Regions from separate parts of the Homo sapiens genome. Here regions 1 and 2 are each linked to region 3. Evidence: promoter capture Hi-C in 16 types of primary human blood cells and fetal thymus (Javierre and others, 2016). All regions are on one chromosome and are shown on one strand. The core of a region is centred on a gene start or on the middle of the fragment in contact, and the rest is flanking DNA. Distances in the headings are between cores, read along the strand shown.

Region 1 (2,761 bases), core at 57-2,556, 840 kb after region 3:
GTGCACTGTATAAAAATCCAATACAAAATAATCAAATAGAAAATAAACAACTAAAAAAAGGCAATTTTTAATAAATGGAGATAAAAGTTAAAAAAAGGAATACAGCATTTGCTTATTTATATATATTTATTTCACTAACATATATATTGTCAATAATAATGTAAAGACTGATGATTGCGCTAATTGTATAGGGAACAGTGAGAAGTAGGGTAGATTGATGATTATATGAGAGCATTCTTATCTATCAAAATGGCAAAGAGATTAGATAATATCTGATTTATTAGCAAAGAAATAGCAATATAAGCACATTAAAAAATATTGGCTAGGTGCAGTGGCTCACGCCTGTAATCCCAGCATTTTGGGGTCCACCCAGCAGGTGGGTGGATCTCTTGAGCCTAGGAGTTTGAGGCTAGCCTGGCAACACAGTGAGACCCCATCTCTTCTAAAAATACAAAAAATTAGCTGAGCGTAGTGGCACACACATGTATTCCCAGCTACTTGAGAGGCTGAGGTGGGAGAATCGCCTGAGCCTGGGAAGTCGAGGTTACAGTGAATCGTGATTGCACCACTGCACTCCAGCCTGGGCAACAGAGTGAGACCCTGTCTCAAAAAACAAAACAAAACAAAAAAAGAAAGGAAGAGAAAGGAAAATGAAATATGGAGGGAAACAGAAGAAACTGCTTAAGAAATGGAAATTTGTTTCCTATAGAGAGCAGGACCCATGGATCAAAAGGCAGGAGAGTGCTGTTTTTCATTATTACTGTAGTTTTTAAAGTATCATTTGACTAATTATATGCATGCATTGTTTTATTAAAAACGAGGTTAAAATTTCAAATGAATGGGATACTAAAAGCTTATACCCTATTTGACCATGTTTCTGATAACCGCAGGTAACAAAAGGACAACTGTGACCAAGGAAAAGGCTGGGGGGTGGCGGGCAGACAGAGGAAGGTGGGGGCAGCAGCAAGGGCTAGCAGAGGGACACTGCCAGGAAGTGAGAACTTGGGGCAACAGGTGGCCCTGAGTATGGGTAGAAATATCTGACCCCACCCAGGGCTGTGACCGAGGTCGGACGGAAGTGCAGGGAAAGACCAGCAGACCGCGGGAACTCGCTCGTAAAGCACTTTGTTTACTTCCTGCTGTCTGGAATTTCAGAGTGAAGTCCAGTGGGACCTCTGGCCTGGCCACCTGTCCGCACAACACACGGGGCCCAGGAGGCTTTCCCTGGCATCATTTGCAAGGAGGCATCATTTGCATTCACCTTCCATTTGTCTGACCTCAGAGGTGGGACCCTCTGCTTCCTTCACATACTTGATAGTGGATGGCCAGGGGCAACTTCCAAAATTCCTGGCCTCCCTGGCTCTTTCAACAGGCAACTGAAGCTCAAATTCAGTTCTTCTCAGGGCTGCAGGGCGAACACTCTGGACACCACAGCCAGAGCTGCACTAAGCGGCTGCACTCACTGAGCCGGCCCTCCGAAGGGTGCTACAATATGGATCTGATCACAGCTCAAATTCCACCAGGTAGTGACCTTGGACAAGTAACCTGACCCCCTCCCAGTCTCTGTGTCATCATCTGAAAGGAAGAGAGAATATCCCACATTTGCAGATCTTTGGTGAGAAACAAATTACGGATCTAAATGCTCAATAATTGTTTGACCCTTCCCCCTGTCTGCTTATACCAAGTAAGCATCCACCATAAAATCCAGGCAGCCAGGTGTATTAGTCTCCTTTTGCCGCTGTAACAAATGACAAGCTTAGTGGCTTAACACCAATTTTTAATCTTACAGGGCAGGAGGTCAGAAGTCTAAAATGACTTTCACTGGGCTAAAATCATGGCCTGTGTTCTTTCTGGAGACTCCAGGGGAGAATCCGTTTCCTTGGCTTTTCCAGCTCTAGAGACTGCCTGCGATCTTTGGCCTGTGGCCCCTTCCGCCCTCTTCAGAGTACATCACTCCAACCTCTGCTTCCCTCCTGCCCAGGACACCTGTGATTACATTAAGCCCACCCAGGTGATCCAAGACAATCTCTCTATCTCAAGATCCTGAACTTAAACACAGCTTAAACTTACCCCAGGTAACACAGTCACACATTCCAGGGATTAGGACATGGACATCCCACCACACTTTGTACGAAGTGCACCTGAACTGAAGTAACTTAGTCAGGTGTAACTGACACTGCCCCTTGCCCTCTGCTCTCCCAAGAATCATTTTAAGGAGACTTTACTAAGGAATCATGGAAAAAAGTTAAAAAACAACTTAAAGGCCAGGCGCGGTGGCTCATGCCTGTAATCCCAGGGCTTTGGGAGGCCCAGGCGGGTGGATCACGAGGTCAGGAGTTTGAGACCAGCCTAGCCAACATGGTGAAACCCCGTCTCTACTAAAAATACAAAAAATTAGCTGGGCATGGTGGCAGGTGCCTGTAATCCCAGCTACTCAGGAGGCTGAGGCAGGAGAATAGCTTGAACTCAGGAGGCAGAGGCTGCAGTGAGCCGAGACCGCGCCATTGCACTCCAGCCTGGGTAACAGAGAGAGACTCCATCTCAAAAACAAACAAAAAACAAAAGAATTTAAGAAGCCAGAATAACAGGAAGTGTGCTGCTAGTTTCCCAGGATTACAATTTACTTGTAAATGTACTGAAGAACTCTGAAGTTCTCCTTGAGATTTGAAATATTTTAATACCTATGTCAGACTCTGACAGCACCCTAACGCCCCCAAGATCAGGGCAAGGGGTGAGGGGTATCTGACACCCAGCTGAAGTC
Region 2 (2,782 bases), core at 37-2,536, 870 kb after region 3:
GTATCCTAGTGAGATATTGTTCATTGATATCAAATTTTAGTGAGCCACAGTTTCAAAGAGTTTTAATAAAAGACTATCAAAAGACTGGGTGTGGTGGCTCATGCCTGTAATCCCAGCACTTTGGGAGGCCGAGGCAGATGGATCACCTGAGGTCAGGAATTTGAGACCAGCCTGGCCAACATGGTGAAACCCCATCTCTACTAAAAATACAAAAAATTAGCCGGGCGTGGTGGCGGGTGCCTGTAATCCAAGCTACTGAGGAGGCTGAGGCCGGAGAATCACTTGAACCCAGGAGGCAGAGGTTGCAGTGAGCCAAGATCACGCCATTGCACTCCAGCCTGGGCAACAAGAGCAAAAGTTCATCTTAAAAAAAAAAAAAAAGACTATCATAAAACAATTACATTTTGTTTAAAAAAAAAGGAGTTTTTTTTGCATAAGCTTTATTACATAGGCAAAATTGGGTGACTTGAGGAGAAGCTGTTATATTGGCAAACCTTCTTCCCTCTCCAGATAGACGGTGATCTGGCATTTTCATATCATAGCTGTATGAGTGCAGCCTTGAGGGGACATGCCAGTCTAGTCGATGTGAAATCAATGGGATATTCCCGTTGGTTCATCTCTTCATACCATGCAGCCACAGATCCGTGATAATCCACACATACTATTGGCTGTCTAATTACAGAGCAAATAATATCCTCTTACTTGAAGGAATTTTTACTTGTGTTCAGAAAAATAACACATCTTTCAAAGTCATTCTGGTTTTGAGAAATACATTTTATAATAGAATGAGTCTCTGTCTTTCCTGGCAAGGCAGGTAGGGGGCACTAGTCTATTTTACTGAGGAAGCTGGGGCAAGAGCCAATAAGGGCTGCCCCTGTAATTATACATTCTCTGGGAATTAATCATTTTGCTCAATTCTAGGAAAAGTCTCTCAGTTCTTACCCAAGTGCTATTCTTATTTTAGGGAATAGCTAACTTACTTAGTTTTCTAATATAACCACAACAGATCAGAAGCAGTAAATTTTAAAAGGCTAACACTAAAAGCAGAAAGAAACAATGACTGAACAGTAAGTGAAAGGTGAAGCACTAAGAGGCAGACATTCTGGGATTCTTCTTAAAAAGCAGCATTCTGGGGCATTCGATGTAAGGAGGGGCGAACAGTCTTCACCCGTGACTGTTCCTTGTGCACTAGTGCCTTGTATTATGCTTCCGAGCAAGAAAAAGAAATTCTTTTCCCCATGCTCTGAATAGGAAGTCAAGGAAACATGCAGTTTATTTTAGCTTGCCAACAAAAACTACACACACACACACACACACACAGCTTAAGGTTATGTTAAAAAAAGGAATACTTTACTCCATTGTGCCAGATAAAGTTATTCTAACTCTGTTACATACTTCATGTTAGTACTTGGAAGACACCTTGGAAATACCTAGTACATTTCATCAGGTGTTGAGGGACTGAATAATACTGGTGTAAAGTTGAATTTTTCTAACTGTGTAAACCAGTGGGCTTGATAAGAGAGCTCAGCCGACGTTACGTCAGAAAGGGCCGTCCATAAAGTGGTTCTGCAAATGCTGATGTCAACCCAGGACACACAATTAGAGGCCTCAAAGAATATAACCACCTCACTTGTGCTACTACCCAGCCCTGTTTCACAGTGGTTGGGGATCAGAACCTCTTCAGGGAGTGTATGCATTGTAATTGTATCTGTTTATTCCTCCCCCCACCCCCACCACGCACACACTAGGCCATCAACTTCTAGTTGGGTAGGATTCATTTTTGTAACCTGGTGCCCTAGTGCCATCCCTGGCACTTACTATATGTTCAATAGATAATTCTTGAATAAAGAATACATAACCTGGTGAACAATACAGAGCAGGATCTCAGCAAATCCCAAATTGTGTGAAACTCATAATATCGAGCACAGGTGCCATAGGAGGTGGAGAAACATTCAGTGAGGCACCCACAGGCTCTGCGCTAAGCAGGATACAGAGTGGAGTAAGAGGCTGCCAAATCCCAAGGACCTCGCAGTCCTGTGATGGGGACAGATGCAAGAATGCCCCCGAGAACTGGAGAAGGGAATGGAGCTCTCGGAAAAAGCTCAGTCAGCGCCTAAGGGATAGGAAAAGCTTAGTAGGGGGTGACACTTGAACTGAGTTTTGAGAGAAGGGTAAAGTGCTTCTATATAAAAAGGAGGGACATTCCAGGAAGAGGGAGCAACCAGGGCAAAGGCACAGAGGCCCCTGGGTCCACTGGGAGAATGCCAGGCCGTTTCTTGAGAAATGCAGGACTGGACATAGCTGAGGGGAGGACAGATGGTAAGGGACTGGGCTCTCCTCCTCTGGATGAGGGAGAGTCCCAGGAGGAGTGTAAGCTGCAGAGTGCTTGAGAGATCACCCTTGCGGGAGTGTTGATGGATTGGAGGTGGCCGAGCTAACGGGGCCACTTAGGAGAGGGTCATCAGATTTAACCTTTGCAGGTATTGGGGTGGGGGCATGGGGGAAGGGCACTGCTGCAAGCTGAGTTCTTTGAAGGTAGGGATGACAGCATTTGGTGACTGGCTGACTGTGGGGAGGGGGCTGGGAGGAAGAGGGGAAGATTCAGGCTTATTCCTAGGGTTTTGCTTAGCCACTGACTGCACTTGATGATGCAGGGAATACAGCGGGAGGGGGAAGGAGGATTGGAAAGGTAAGTTCAGGAATTACTTTTGGACATTTCTGTTTCCAGGTGCCTGAGGAACATCTAAATCATCAGGTTATGTCTGAAATAAAGGGAGAGAGT
Region 3 (3,020 bases), core at 213-2,712:
AAGGTGGCAGAGATTGGAGTCTACTGCCAAGGGGTGCCAAGAATTATTGGCAACTACCAGAAGCTAGGAGAGGGGCAAGCAACAGTTCTTCCCCTGGAGCTTCCAGTAGAAACCAACCCTGCTGACACCTTGATCTTGGACTTCTGCCCTCAAGAACTGCGAGAGAATAATTTCTGTTTTATAAGGTCATCCAGTTTGTGGCAATTGGTTACCACAGCCCTAGAAAACTAATACAGATTGTACGTACTGTAGCCTCATCCTATTTTAAGCAGATTTGTCCTGTTCGAAAGTGCAGTCATTAGCCTCAGAGAAGTCTGTCCAGGGTGAGATTAGATTTCTCTGTAGCTCTAGAGGACAGAATTCAGATGGACGGGTCCTACCCACAGGGAATGATAAAATCATGGCTTTCTTTTGACAACTGATCATATTAGCATGAAGGGCCCCAGAGCCCTTTTTCTGAATATCTTCATTTTCCAGGGATAAAGACACAGAAAGGTGAGGAAACTTAATGGAACTCGGGGACCCAAACAGTGTCTGGTCCATAATAGATGCTCAAAAACCATATATTGAAGGGATGGATGAATGAAAAACGCTTCATGGGCAATATAAAAATTTGATTTACTCACGCCTGTAATCCCTTTTGGATTTACTCGGCCTGTAATTTGGGAGGCCGAGACGGGTGGGTCACGAGGTCAGGAGATCGATCGAGACCATCCTGGCTAACACAGTGAAACCCCGTCTCTGCTAAAAATACAAAAAATTAGCCGGGCGCGGTGTCGGGCGCCTGTAGTCCCAGCTACTCGGAGGCTGAGGCAGGAGAATGGCGTGAACCCGGGAGGCGGAGCTTGCAGTGAGCCGAGATCGCGCCACTGCACTCCAGCCTGGGCGACAGAGCAAGGCTCCGTCTCAAAAAAAAAAAATTGATTTATTTTCTCGTTTAGCTGCCTGCTTCAAAATCGATGGAAGGGTAGAAAGAGAACCTAGGAGGGGGCAAGAGACCTGGAGTCTCTGTCCAGGTTCTGGCCTCAACTCTCTATGTGATCTTGGGCAAGTCCCTGCCTCTTAGCCTCAGTTTCCCCTCATTAAAAGGAGGAACAGGGGATGGACCAGTGATTTCCAGACACCTGAGCTTCCATGTAGAATCTCTTGACCAGCCTGGGTGCGGACTGGGGTCCAGGGGGCATTGGTGGTGCCCAGGACGCGGGACCCTCCCTGAGGAAAGGCCCCGACAGCGCCCTGGGGCGCAGACCCTCGCTGGGTTTGCGGACCGGGGGCCGAGGGCTGGGAGCTGAGAGCTGGCGTGAGGCTCTGGGCCGCCGCCGCCGCTCACCTTCCCGATGTTTCCGCTGCTGTAGGAATCCAACAGGTTTATAAACACCCTCTGGGTCCGGATAACCTTCTCCGTGAGAGCAGCAGTTTCCTCTTCTTCAGCCATGGTGGGAGCCGCGCTGGTTGCTAAGGTGAAAGCGCCACTCGCTTGCCAAGGAGGCGGGGCCCGGGCCAGGGAGGCGGGGCAGGTTCTCTCTGGGGGCGGGGCCTTGGCTCCGGGCAGTTTGCCGGGCGGGGAGGGGCGTGTCGTGGGCGAAGCAGGGAGTGCCGGGCGGGGCGGTGCGTGTCGTGCCCGGCGCTAATCAGGGCGTGCCAGGCGGGACGGGGCAGGCTGTGCCGGTCGCTGGGCGGGGCGTGCCGGGTAGGGCGGGGCGAGTCGTGCCGGGGGGTTGGGCGGGGCATGCCGGGCAGGGCGGGGTGTGTAGTGCAGTGGGCTGGGCGGGGCGCGCCGGGCGAAGCGGGGCTCAGGGCTCGCAACTGCGCGCGCTGTCGGCTGCTGGGCGCCAGGCGGATGTCCCTGCGAGTGCTTTCCGCGGCGCCGCGCGTGCAGCCCGGGTCTCACCCTGGCTTGCTGCCCACTGGGAGCCCTTGGGCAGTGCATGGTTTCTTTCCGAAGCTCCCTGGGCGTCTGTCCCGGGGGGCCATGTGATTGCTGTGCCTTTTTAATCTCCATTGTTCGGAAAGTCTGGAAACACATCCCTGTGTCCGCTTGACCCGATGACTAAAAATAATGAGAATTCTGAAGAAGAGGGAATGGCCCACAGCCTAGGCCTCTCCCCGACACGTGGGAGTTACTCAGCACGCTCCCATGGGGTGGTCTGGCCGGGGCGACGGGACGTAAGCCTCAGCTGCGAAGAAAAGCTGTTGCCATGGAGTTTCGGGCTCCCGAACACCCGAGCGACGCTAGCGTGGTCCCGCCTTGCGGCAGGTGCGGCTTGGTCCGCCGGCTCAGCTCCCTTGGGGGTTGTTTCCAGACGCACGTTCCGGGAAGACCCCTGGTGTCGGCTGGGGGCGACCAGAGCCCGTAGGCGCCCGGGATTCGCTCACATTCACCAAGGGAAGAAATTTAGACTTGACCGTTCCACAAGAGATTATACATGCAGTTGCTGAGATAAATCCACAAATTAAAAGATAACATTCACCTCGGTGATCACTGGACCATAAAGGTTGTGGTGGACTAAGAATACGCAGTTCCCTTGGAATAGCCTGATCATATTGAACTGTTTTCATGCCTTAAGCATTAACTCCTTAAATGCAAATATTTAACACTTGCAGCAATTGTGTGTGCGTGGTTTCTTCTCGTTCTTTTTATTATTTTTAATAGAGACAGGGTCTCACTATGTTTGTTGCCCAGGCTAGTCTCTAACTCCGGAGCTCAAGAAACTCTCCTGCCTCGTCCTCCCAAAGTGCTGGTATTACAGGCATGAGCCACCACGCCAGCGTTCTTGTTCTTTTTATTTTTAATTTATTTTTTTGAGATGGAGTCTCGCTCTGTCACCCAGACTGGAGTGCAATGGCATAATCTCAGCTCACTGCAACCTCGCCTCCCGGGTTCAAGCGATTCTCCTGCCTCAGCCTTCGAAGTAGCTGGGACTACAGGCGCCTACCACCGTTCCCGGCTAATTTTTGTATTTTTAGTAGAGACAGGTTTTCAGCATGTTGGTCACGCTGGTCTTGAACTTCTGGCCTCA

Evidence for each region. Contacts are between HindIII fragments. The CHiCAGO score rates a contact against its expected background, and 5 or more counts as called.
Region 1: a fragment that was not itself captured here is called in contact with the fragment with the promoter of AK7 in region 3 in 1 of 17 cell types (neutrophils); the score reaches 6.0 in neutrophils.
Region 2: a fragment that was not itself captured here is called in contact with the fragment with the promoter of AK7 in region 3 in 1 of 17 cell types (neutrophils); the score reaches 5.5 in neutrophils.

Annotation. Positions count from the first base shown.
Region 1 is chr14:95,548,802-95,551,562 of GRCh38, reverse strand. No RefSeq gene overlaps it. Among named protein-coding and RNA genes, the nearest start is that of GLRX5, 15 kb to the right of the region's middle. The HindIII fragment of the contact is 902 bases long and covers 856-1,757 here.
Region 2 is chr14:95,525,619-95,528,400 of GRCh38, reverse strand. No RefSeq gene overlaps it. Among named protein-coding and RNA genes, the nearest start is that of SNHG10, 7.9 kb to the left of the region's middle. The HindIII fragment of the contact is 1,692 bases long and covers 441-2,132 here.
Region 3 is chr14:96,390,570-96,393,589 of GRCh38, reverse strand. It overlaps AK7 (adenylate kinase 7), which reads right to left and starts at 1,462. Exons shown (of 18, transcript NM_152327.5): 1 at 1,331-1,462. The coding sequence starts at 1,435. RefSeq lists a silencer at 1,393-1,902. The HindIII fragment of the contact is 12,427 bases long and covers 1-3,020 here.